Regions from separate parts of the Homo sapiens genome. Here region 1 is linked to region 2. The links are contacts of gene promoters, found by promoter capture Hi-C in human tissues and cell types (Jung and others, 2019). All regions are on one chromosome and are shown on one strand. The core of a region is centred on a gene start or on the middle of the fragment in contact, and the rest is flanking DNA. Distances in the headings are between cores, read along the strand shown. Region 1 has its middle 71 kb from the start of NXPE2. Region 2 holds the start of NXPE1 (neurexophilin and PC-esterase domain family member 1).

Region 1 (4,512 bases), core at 369-2,868, 190 kb after region 2:
TAAAGAAAAGAGGTTTAATTGACTCACAGGTCTGCATGGCTGGGGAAGCCTCAGGAAACTTATAATCATAGCTAAAGGTGAAGGGGAAGCAAGACACATCTTACACAGTGGCAGGAGAGAGAGAGGGCAAGGGGGGAACTGCCAAGCACTTTAAAACCATCAGATCCCATGAAAACTCATTCACTATTATGAGAACCATGCGGAGAAACCAATCACCTGCCACCAGGTCCTTCCCTCAACACATGGGAATTACAATTTGAGATGAGAGTTGGGTGAGGACACAGCGCCAAACCATATCACCTCACATACTCATCATTTTTGTGGTGCGAAAAAATTTATAGCCACTCTCTTAGCATTTTTCAAGAATATGATATATTATCAAGTACAGTTGTCAGGCTGTACAATGGATTGCTTGACTGTATTCCTCCTATTTAGCTGAATTTTGTGGCCTTTGACCAACAGTGCCCCAATTCTCCCCAGCCCTTGGTGGCCATCATTCTACTCTCCACTTTCGTGAGATCACCTTTATTAGATGCCACATATGAGTGAAGTCATCTGGTGTTTGTCTTTCTGTGCCTGGCTTATTTCACTAAGCATCTTTCTTTTTGATCCACTCATCTTTACGTGCCATACTTACAAATGTTTTTTCATTTTCTTTCTTTTTTATTAATATTTTGTTTTGAAACAATTTTAACCTTACAGAAAATTTGCAGGTATGGTACAAAGCAGTTTATTTTTCCTGAGATGTTTGGGAGTAAATTGCCTATGTGTTGCTCCTTTGTCCCCTAGTACATGCAGTTCCTACTAATAAGGACTTTCTCCTATAAACCAAGACACAACCTGCAACATCAAGAAATTAACATTGATGCATCACTATCATTTAATCTTCAGACACACTCAAATTTTGCCAGATGTCTCAAAAGTGTTGTTTACAGCAAAAGAATTCAATTTGGAATCATGAGTTGCTTTTCACTGTCTTGTCTTCCCAGAGTCCCTCACTCTGGCCCAATTCTCAGTCTTTTCTTGATTTTCATTAGCTTGACACTTTTGAAGACTACAGACCAGTTACTTTTTACTGTGTTTTTCAATTTGCATTTGTTTCATGTTTCCCCTTTATTAGATTCAAGTTGTACATTTTGGCAGGAATATCACATAAGCGATCCTGTGTTCTTCTTGTCACATGCCATTAGATGACACAGATTCCAATTTTTTCACTTTGGTTACTTGAATGAGATGGTATCTGCCATGCTTCTCCACAACAAAGTCATTCTTTTTCCATTTGTATTTAATTAAAGTGCTGTGGGAAGTTACTTTGGAACTACATATATATCCATTATCAAACTTTCAATTTATTTATTGATTAATTTGTGTCAGGAATACATATGGTTTCCATTTTATTCAATGGATTATAATTAGTTGCCATCATTGTTTATTTTGATAATGAAATTGTGCTAGATCTGACCAGTGAGTGCCTCTTCAGATAGGCTTCTATGTCCGTTTGACATACCTTTATCATTCTTTGAGCTATTCCTTGTTTTCTAGGACAAGACATTCCAAATTCATCTTGTAATTTTGTTGCCTCAGCACTGGAATCTACCATTTCTCCAAAGAGTCCTGGTTCCTTTTAGTAAAGCATACGTATTTAGAAGCCATGATCTAGGCACCTGGTATGTGCATTGCTATTTGTGTTATTGTTCCTAGGCTCTATCAGGGGAGAGTTAGGGAATATATGTATGTATGCATATATATTTACATCTAAATTCATTCATGTATATCTAATCCATTATGCATATATACATACACACACATACATTTATGTATATGTATATAATGTATACAGTCAGCCCTCTGTATCAGCAGGGAACTGATTCCAGGACCCATCACACATACCAAAATCCACAGATGTTCAAATCCCTTATATAAAATGGGGTCAGCACTCTATCTGCAGGTTCCACACCTGCAGATTCAAGCAATTTTGGATGGAAAATTTGTACAGTTGGCCTCCCATATCCACCTGCTGATGTGAAGCCCACAGAAAAGGAGGGCCAACTGTACCTATATAATCTCCAAAAGTTCACAAGGATGCACCACAGGGCTCATTCTGGTATTCTCCCTTTTCATTTTTGTAATGCCTTTCTCTGACAATGACAAAACTATCTCTCATTATCCTTATTTCATCAATCCCCAGTACATGACCAACCATTCATTGCTACCATCCCTTCTTCATGTGAACACCCTCTTTGTGTCTAACACTCACACTGGCCGTCACCTCTGTGGGAATGCCCTTTCCACTCTTCTCAGGCTTTGAAACTCACCGTAAACCTCCTTCCACGTGGATGTCTTCTTCACCCTGCTCAAGCTTTGCCACCCTGTGCCTGATTCCCCACCCACCCCATCTGTGTCTTCCACATGAATGTCCTCTGATACCCATGCCTGGCCACCCTCCATGTAGACTCTCTTCTCTCCTTCCTCAGGCTTTGAACATTCGCCAAGATGCTCCCTGCCCTCCTCCAAGAGGACATTCTTCTCACCCACCCAGGCTCAGACCCAAGTGGCCCTCCTAGACAGGTGCTCTCTTAACTCAGCTCAGTTCAATGCCCTCCACTGCACTACTGAGGCTCCCTCCACCTCCGCATCAGGTACAGAGGTCCGTCTTGCTCTGCCTACCTAAAGGTGTTAGAATCAAACTCTTCAATAAGGGAAGGAAAGAGAAGTGAAAGATCTCACAGTTTCTTTGAGACAAATTTATCATATCTGGTATGTTTCTTTCCATTTTTGCTCCCCCAGTTCTCTTGCTCCAGGCTGTCACATGTCTGCGGACAAGTTTTACCCTTAATATCTGCCATGAGTAGTTTTATACAATTGAAAAAGATTTACTGAGCAATATATCCTTGATTTGATCCTTGCCTTTAGGTAATATAATTTGTTGAAAGATTTTATTGGCATCTATCCTGAAATTGCTTTTTGACTCTTAAGTTTTACTATATGGTGTCCAGAAGCAATTGGCTTTTCAATCCTGCAAAGTTCTAATTCTTAAATTTCCCCATTTCCTTTCATTTCTGCTTTCAAACTGGGAAATTCTTCCCTTGGCTTATTTCTTATAGTATCTAGCCAAACATGACAAACATCACTAAACAAACACTCCAACATTATGTTTTCCCCTTGAGTGCCAGCTTCACTTAAATATGATCTACTTCCCAAGTTACATAGGTGACAGTTTTACTAAATATTTGGTTACAATATAACATGAATCACAACCTTTGTAGCCTCTGATATTAGTTGTCTTGCCAATGGCCATCTAACTGTGAAGTCAGTGCCACATATTTGGTTGCTTTTTACACAGACTCCCAACTTTCGGTATGGAAGCCTGTATTAATCAGAGTAGACTAATTATGTTTTGATAGCAAATGATTCAACGTTTCAGTGCCTTAATACAACAAAATTTGATTTCTTGATGGCATTTTATGTCCTACTCTTGTTGTGGGGGTGGGGGGTGTGGAGTGAAGGTCCTGTTTTGCATAGTCACTCAGGGACTCAGGCTGTCAAAGGTCCTGCCATTCTGTATCTATACTATCTGAAATGACCACTCCCTAGTTGCTTCAGCAGGGGATAGAGACCGAAGAAGCATGCATGGGCTTTTTATTGCCTCATATCAAACTTGATATACATTACTTATGGTCACATTTCAATGGCCAGAATTAGCTATGTGGTCCCAGCCAACTGCAAAGGAGCAGAACGTGCAGCTTCTATGTGCCAAAAAGGAGAGAACAAAATATTGGCAAACGGTTGTACTACTTCTACAATACACCATTCGTTGGTTGATTCCAGTGGTGAGTCTCATTCCACCATGTTATTATTTATGAGATGTATTTTACACTAATTCAACAGACATTTAGTGAGTTCCTAATGTGTCCTAGTATTCCTTTAGACACTGAATATATCTATACACAGATATATTAGTTCAGTGATATATCAGTAAACAAAAGTGACAAAACCTACCTACCCTCATTTTTAATGGGCTGGACAGACAAATTTTTAGCTGCTAAGTGCCATTAGGGAAAATTAAAGCAGAAAAGGAGGTTAGGGCTTTCTGGTGGAGGGATGAGATTTAAAAGCTTAAATATTTCAGTCGGGAAAGCCTGCTACAACAGTCATTGTGGCAAGCTGAATAATGACCCCCCAAAATGTCCATATCCTAATCCCTGGAACCTGCAAATATGTGACCTTACTTGGCAAAAGGGACTTTGAATCAGTGACCAAATCTTGGTCACTTGATCATGAGGTGGGGAGATCATCCTAAATTATCCAGGCAGGCCCTATGTAATCATGAGGGTCTTTACAAAATGGCAGGGGGGTTAGAGTCAGAGAAGGCAACGTGATGATGAAAGCGGAGAAAGAAAGAGATTTGAAGATGCCATGATGATGGCTTTGAAGATGGAGAATGGGGCCTGGAGCCAAGAAATATGGGCAGCCTCTAGAATATGGAAAAGACAAGGCAATAGCCCTGCTGAC
Region 2 (4,702 bases), core at 422-2,921:
GTGTGTATATATATATCCATATATATGCACATTCTATATGTTTTTCTTTTTATTTCATTTTCCAAACAAATATCTGTGGCTGATGTGTAGAAATGCAAGTGCTTTATTTTAATAGTGCTTTTATATAGGCACACATAGAGAACAAAGATGATTAGAAGTGGCCATATTGGGTACGTTTGCCTTGTTTTCATAGTTAGTTTCAACATTTTACTATGTGTAATTAAATATATGATGTTGGATTTGTGATATTTGCTTTTCTTAATGCCTTCTATTAGATTGAGGAAGTTCTCTTTTAAGAAAGTTTGTGAAGTGTTTCTATTACTAATGGAAGTTGAGTTATTGACAAAGGCCTTTTCTGATTCATTGAGGTAATTATATGAATTTTTAAACTTTTATGTTTAAATGTGATGTATTACATTCGTATATTTTCTAAAGCTAAACAATCCTCCTGTTATGGACTTAAGCTGAACTAGGTCACAATATAGATTGGATCTTTATACATAACTCTGCTGTGCTATGTAAGAGTACAAATTAACATGATCGTTTTGAAAGCAGAATGGCAATATTTCTGTTAGTTTGTGTTTATCTATGCCCTATGTCCAAGCAATTCATTCTGGATACATCACAGAGGACTTCTCAGTCAGGTCCATAAAGAATCACATACAAAGTTTGTTTTCAGTTGATTATATGTATAGCTGTAATTGTAGGGAATTAAATAGACTTTAATATGTATTACTATGAAATGGTTAAGAAACATGTAGTGGATGTGTATTGTGGGATACTATCCAACAGTTAGATACAACTCACTAGATTTACCTGTAATATGAAGAGCTCTTAAAAACAGCTCTAAGTGAAGAAAGAAATAAACATAAATCTTTATCACATTTTTATGTAAATTAAAAATATACATACAAAGCACAATACATGGATACACACATACTCAAAGACAAAAATTAAAAAAGAATCCTTCCTGCTTTTCTGGCTTTGTTTATGACTCATCCTACTGCCCACCTGGGGTGGCCTGCCCCTGCACCAATCTAGACTCTATAGTCAGTGAATCCCCAGCTCAGGGGCAATCTCTACAGGAAACTTTCCAGCATAACTCTAGACCACAACGATCTCTCCCGTATTTTGAATTCCTGTGACATATTCATACATTTTCCACCCAAACAATGTCATACATAAAACAAGGCAAAGAAATATCAGTTGTAAACAGGTATTTTTGATGTCCTTCTTCCTCTCTCCAACTAGATGTTAGGTTGAGTGACTGTATCCATGCTTGCTTCCCACAAAGCACTGGGGACTTTTGCTGGTTGGTTATTAGAGAAATATTTTATCTTGATGCTGTCTCACCGTCAAAACCAGCCTATCCTTGTCAGTAAGAGAGGCTCTCACTATCAGTTTTTTTTTTTGTTTCCCACACTTTCTTCTGAGCTTTCTCCCTTTTCTTATCTTTCTCTGACTTGAGAGAACCCCTCAGCAGACACAGTCTTTCTAATTTCTTTTGCTTTGTTCTTCCCTGCCCTCCACTGACCACTGGCAAGATTAGAAATAGAGAAAGGCAGTCTCCATAGTTTTGCTTACTCACCTGTTTTAATGATCTCTCCTATCTGGGTGGCTGGAAAAGTACCTGTGAGTTCTTAACTGGCTCTTGTGGCTGTGTAAAATGTTTTTGTTCCTTGTCTGTGAACACATTTATTTTCATCAGTCTGTTTTCCTCGTAAATTGGCTTATCTTGGGGTGGAGATTTGAAGAGGCAATAAACAGTAGTACAATTAACTGACAATTAGATAATTCCACAGCCTCTGTTAACTGGGTGTTACTCGGGTATTCTTTGAGATTCCTTCTCTCTCCATGTTACTGGTGACCCTTGGGAATGGAAAACCTCTTAGTTCTGAAACAGCTGTGGTCCTTGAAGTCATAGTGTAAAAATACCCCAAGTGACTCTATGGATAGGCTTTCCTCAGAAAATCTGAAGTCTCACGACAACTCCAAACAAGAGAACAAATTGTCAGTGGACACCATGCAGAGAACTGGTGGGTGATTGAGAATTCTTTTTTTTTCTTTTTTTTTTTTTTTTGGACAAGGTTTTGCTCTGTTGCCCAGGCTGGAGTGCAGTGGCGTGATCATAGCTCACTGCAACCTCGAACTCCTGGGCCCAAGCCATCCTTCTGCCTTGGGCCTAGGGGCTACAGGTGCATGCTGCCACACCTGGCTAATATTTTTAATTTGTATTTTGTAGAGATGGGGTCTTACCATGTTGCCCAGGCTGGTCTTGAACTCCTGGGCTCAAGTGGTCTGTCTTCCTCGGCCACCCAAAGTGCTGGGATTACAGGCATGAGCCACTTTTCCCAGCTGGATCTTTTATCGGTTTGAAAAGGATATCTAATAAATGGGGAAGGACTATTTGCTCTGAGTTAGGGAAAGGGGATATGGTTCATTAACTCGTCATTATCATAAACATTATTTAATTCACCAATACAGTAAATGTTGCTGTAACTTCTGCTATGCCAAATGCCTGTAACATGAAAGGGAATATATGGGTGTATATGAATAATTAGGCCTATTAATCCTTCTTTCCCCTCTAACCCCTGGTCACCACTGGTTTTCTTACTGTCTCCATGGTTTTGACTTTTACAGAATGTCACATAGCTGCAATCATACAGTGTGTAGCTGTCCCAGATTGGCTTTTCTCTTAGCGATACGGATTTCAGTTTCTCTGTCTTTTTGTGGCTTGATAGCTTATTTCTTTAGTGCTGAATAATATTTTACTGACTACATATTGGAGACCTTTCTCTCATGCCTCATGCCCTTCCCTCTGGAACCTTCATATTTGTCATGTGACTGTTACTTCAGCTCTGTAACATAAATCTAACTTCATCTCTCTTTCTAAGCCTGGATGCCCAGACCCTGTGCCAATTTGTAAGATTTAGTTTTGAAGATCACAAGTATTATTAGTACTGTGCTAAGTACTCATAGGATTAAATGAATTAATACATGTACAACATTTAAAAACAGTTTCTGACACTTAGTTTAAGCACTAAATAATTAGCAACTACTACTATCACCACCCCAACTACTACTATTTATGCATGGGAGTAAATTTTGAGATTGGCTTTTTTCTCCCACTCAGCGTAACGTCCACGATGTCCATCCAAGTTATTGCATGTGTCAACAGTTCATATGAACATATTGCCTCACTCACAATTAGGCAATATTGTTTGTTACCTTGGTTTCTTTAACCAATATTGTTTCTAAAACCTACTCCTCACTACTCAATTTGTTTCTTATCTTGTAAAGTCTTTGGTAGCTCTTTCAGAGGGGACCAGTATTAGACTGAGTACATATTTTTTCTTCCTAAATAGATGATAAATTTACTTGCTATAGAATTAGGTGAAAAATATTTTTCTTCTTAGCCTTGAGGATACTGTTTCATTCTCTTCATGCATCCAATGTCATTTATGAAATGTCTGATGTCAAAGTTAGTATAATTGTGAATCTTTGTAGCATTTTTCTCTTCATCCTTGGTATTATGAAATTTTATGCAGATCTTTTTATCTTCATCATGTTTGGCGCTTTTAATGGCCCATTAGACCTGAGATCTAATATCTGTTAACTTTTCTTTCATAATTTTGATCACACTTTCCTTTTATTCTGTATTCTGCAAGAATTCTTGAGTTAACATTTTATTTCTCCAGTTTATTGTTTTCATTTTGAACTTTAGTGTGTCCCTCAAGTTTTTCTTTATTTCACGTATCATATTTTAAATTTAACAAATATCTAGTTAACTCTAAGTATGGCTGCAATATCCTCTCACATCAGTCTGGTAATTAAACACACTTATTCTAAATTCTTGTATCAACTGTCCTTTTAACTTTGTTTTCTTGGCATGTCAATTTCTTCTGATTATTGTGCTTTATGCCTCTCTTTCAAGTGTTAGTCTCTTTCAAATGATTGGTAATTTTTGGTTATGTGTTCATCTTTGCATTTGAAATTTTCTGCTAGCCTCCCTGTAAATGTTGGGTTTATTTATTGCATTTTCTTCTGGGAGAGTGGTTAGAAATATTTCCTGGTGCTGAGTGCCAATATCCAGTCTTCTGAGAGTCCATGCTCTCTTCTTCCCTCTTGGGGATTATGCACAGCACTGCTCTGTCTTCCCAGCCCTTGCACACATTCTCAGTGCTTCCATATGATATGTGGAGAGGTCATACCTCATGGCTGTCTCTGTTAAACTCTGTGTCCACCTTTACTGATTTCAGTAGGAATCATAGGAAAAGACAGAAATACTATTATTTTACATATTTCTCATCAGGATATCCAACAAGTTCTGTTTGATATCAAACATAAATCCTGGGACTATTTAATTATGCCATTTTCCTAGACTCTGTAACAACTTTCACAACTGCATCTGTAATCTCTCTTATTTATTACTATCCAGAGTCAAGTTGACTTTACAGAAGTAAATTATCTCTTTCAGTCGTTGTATCCAATCACACAAGCTAAAGGAAAAAGTATACTTAATGACTCATATGAGTGGGAAGTCTTAGGAATTAATCTAGCTTCAGATAAGGCTCGATCTGTGGTTCAAACAATGTAATCAAGCTTCTCTCTAAGCCTGTAGGCTCTCCTGTCCTATTTTCTTAGAGATGCTTGCTCTCAAGATAATGCAGCAAGATAGTCCTAACATGCTTAAGCCATACAT

Evidence for each region. The method cuts DNA at HindIII sites, captures the fragments that hold promoters and counts their contacts. A contact is called where the count stands out against the background at its distance.
Region 1: a contact is called between a fragment that was not itself captured here and the fragment with the promoter of NXPE1 in region 2, in 2 of the 25 tissues and cell types used here (dorsolateral prefrontal cortex and liver).

What each region holds. Positions count from the first base shown.
Region 1 is chr11:114,747,500-114,752,011 of GRCh38, forward strand. It overlaps a transcript of NXPE2 not described here. Among named protein-coding and RNA genes, the nearest start is that of NXPE2, 71 kb to the left of the region's middle. The HindIII fragment of the contact is 3,238 bases long and covers 1-3,237 here.
Region 2 is chr11:114,558,210-114,562,911 of GRCh38, forward strand. It overlaps NXPE1 (neurexophilin and PC-esterase domain family member 1), which reads right to left and starts at 1,672. Exons shown (of 9, transcript NM_001395504.1): 1 at 1,589-1,672. It also overlaps a transcript of NXPE2 not described here. The HindIII fragment of the contact is 13,622 bases long and covers 1-4,702 here.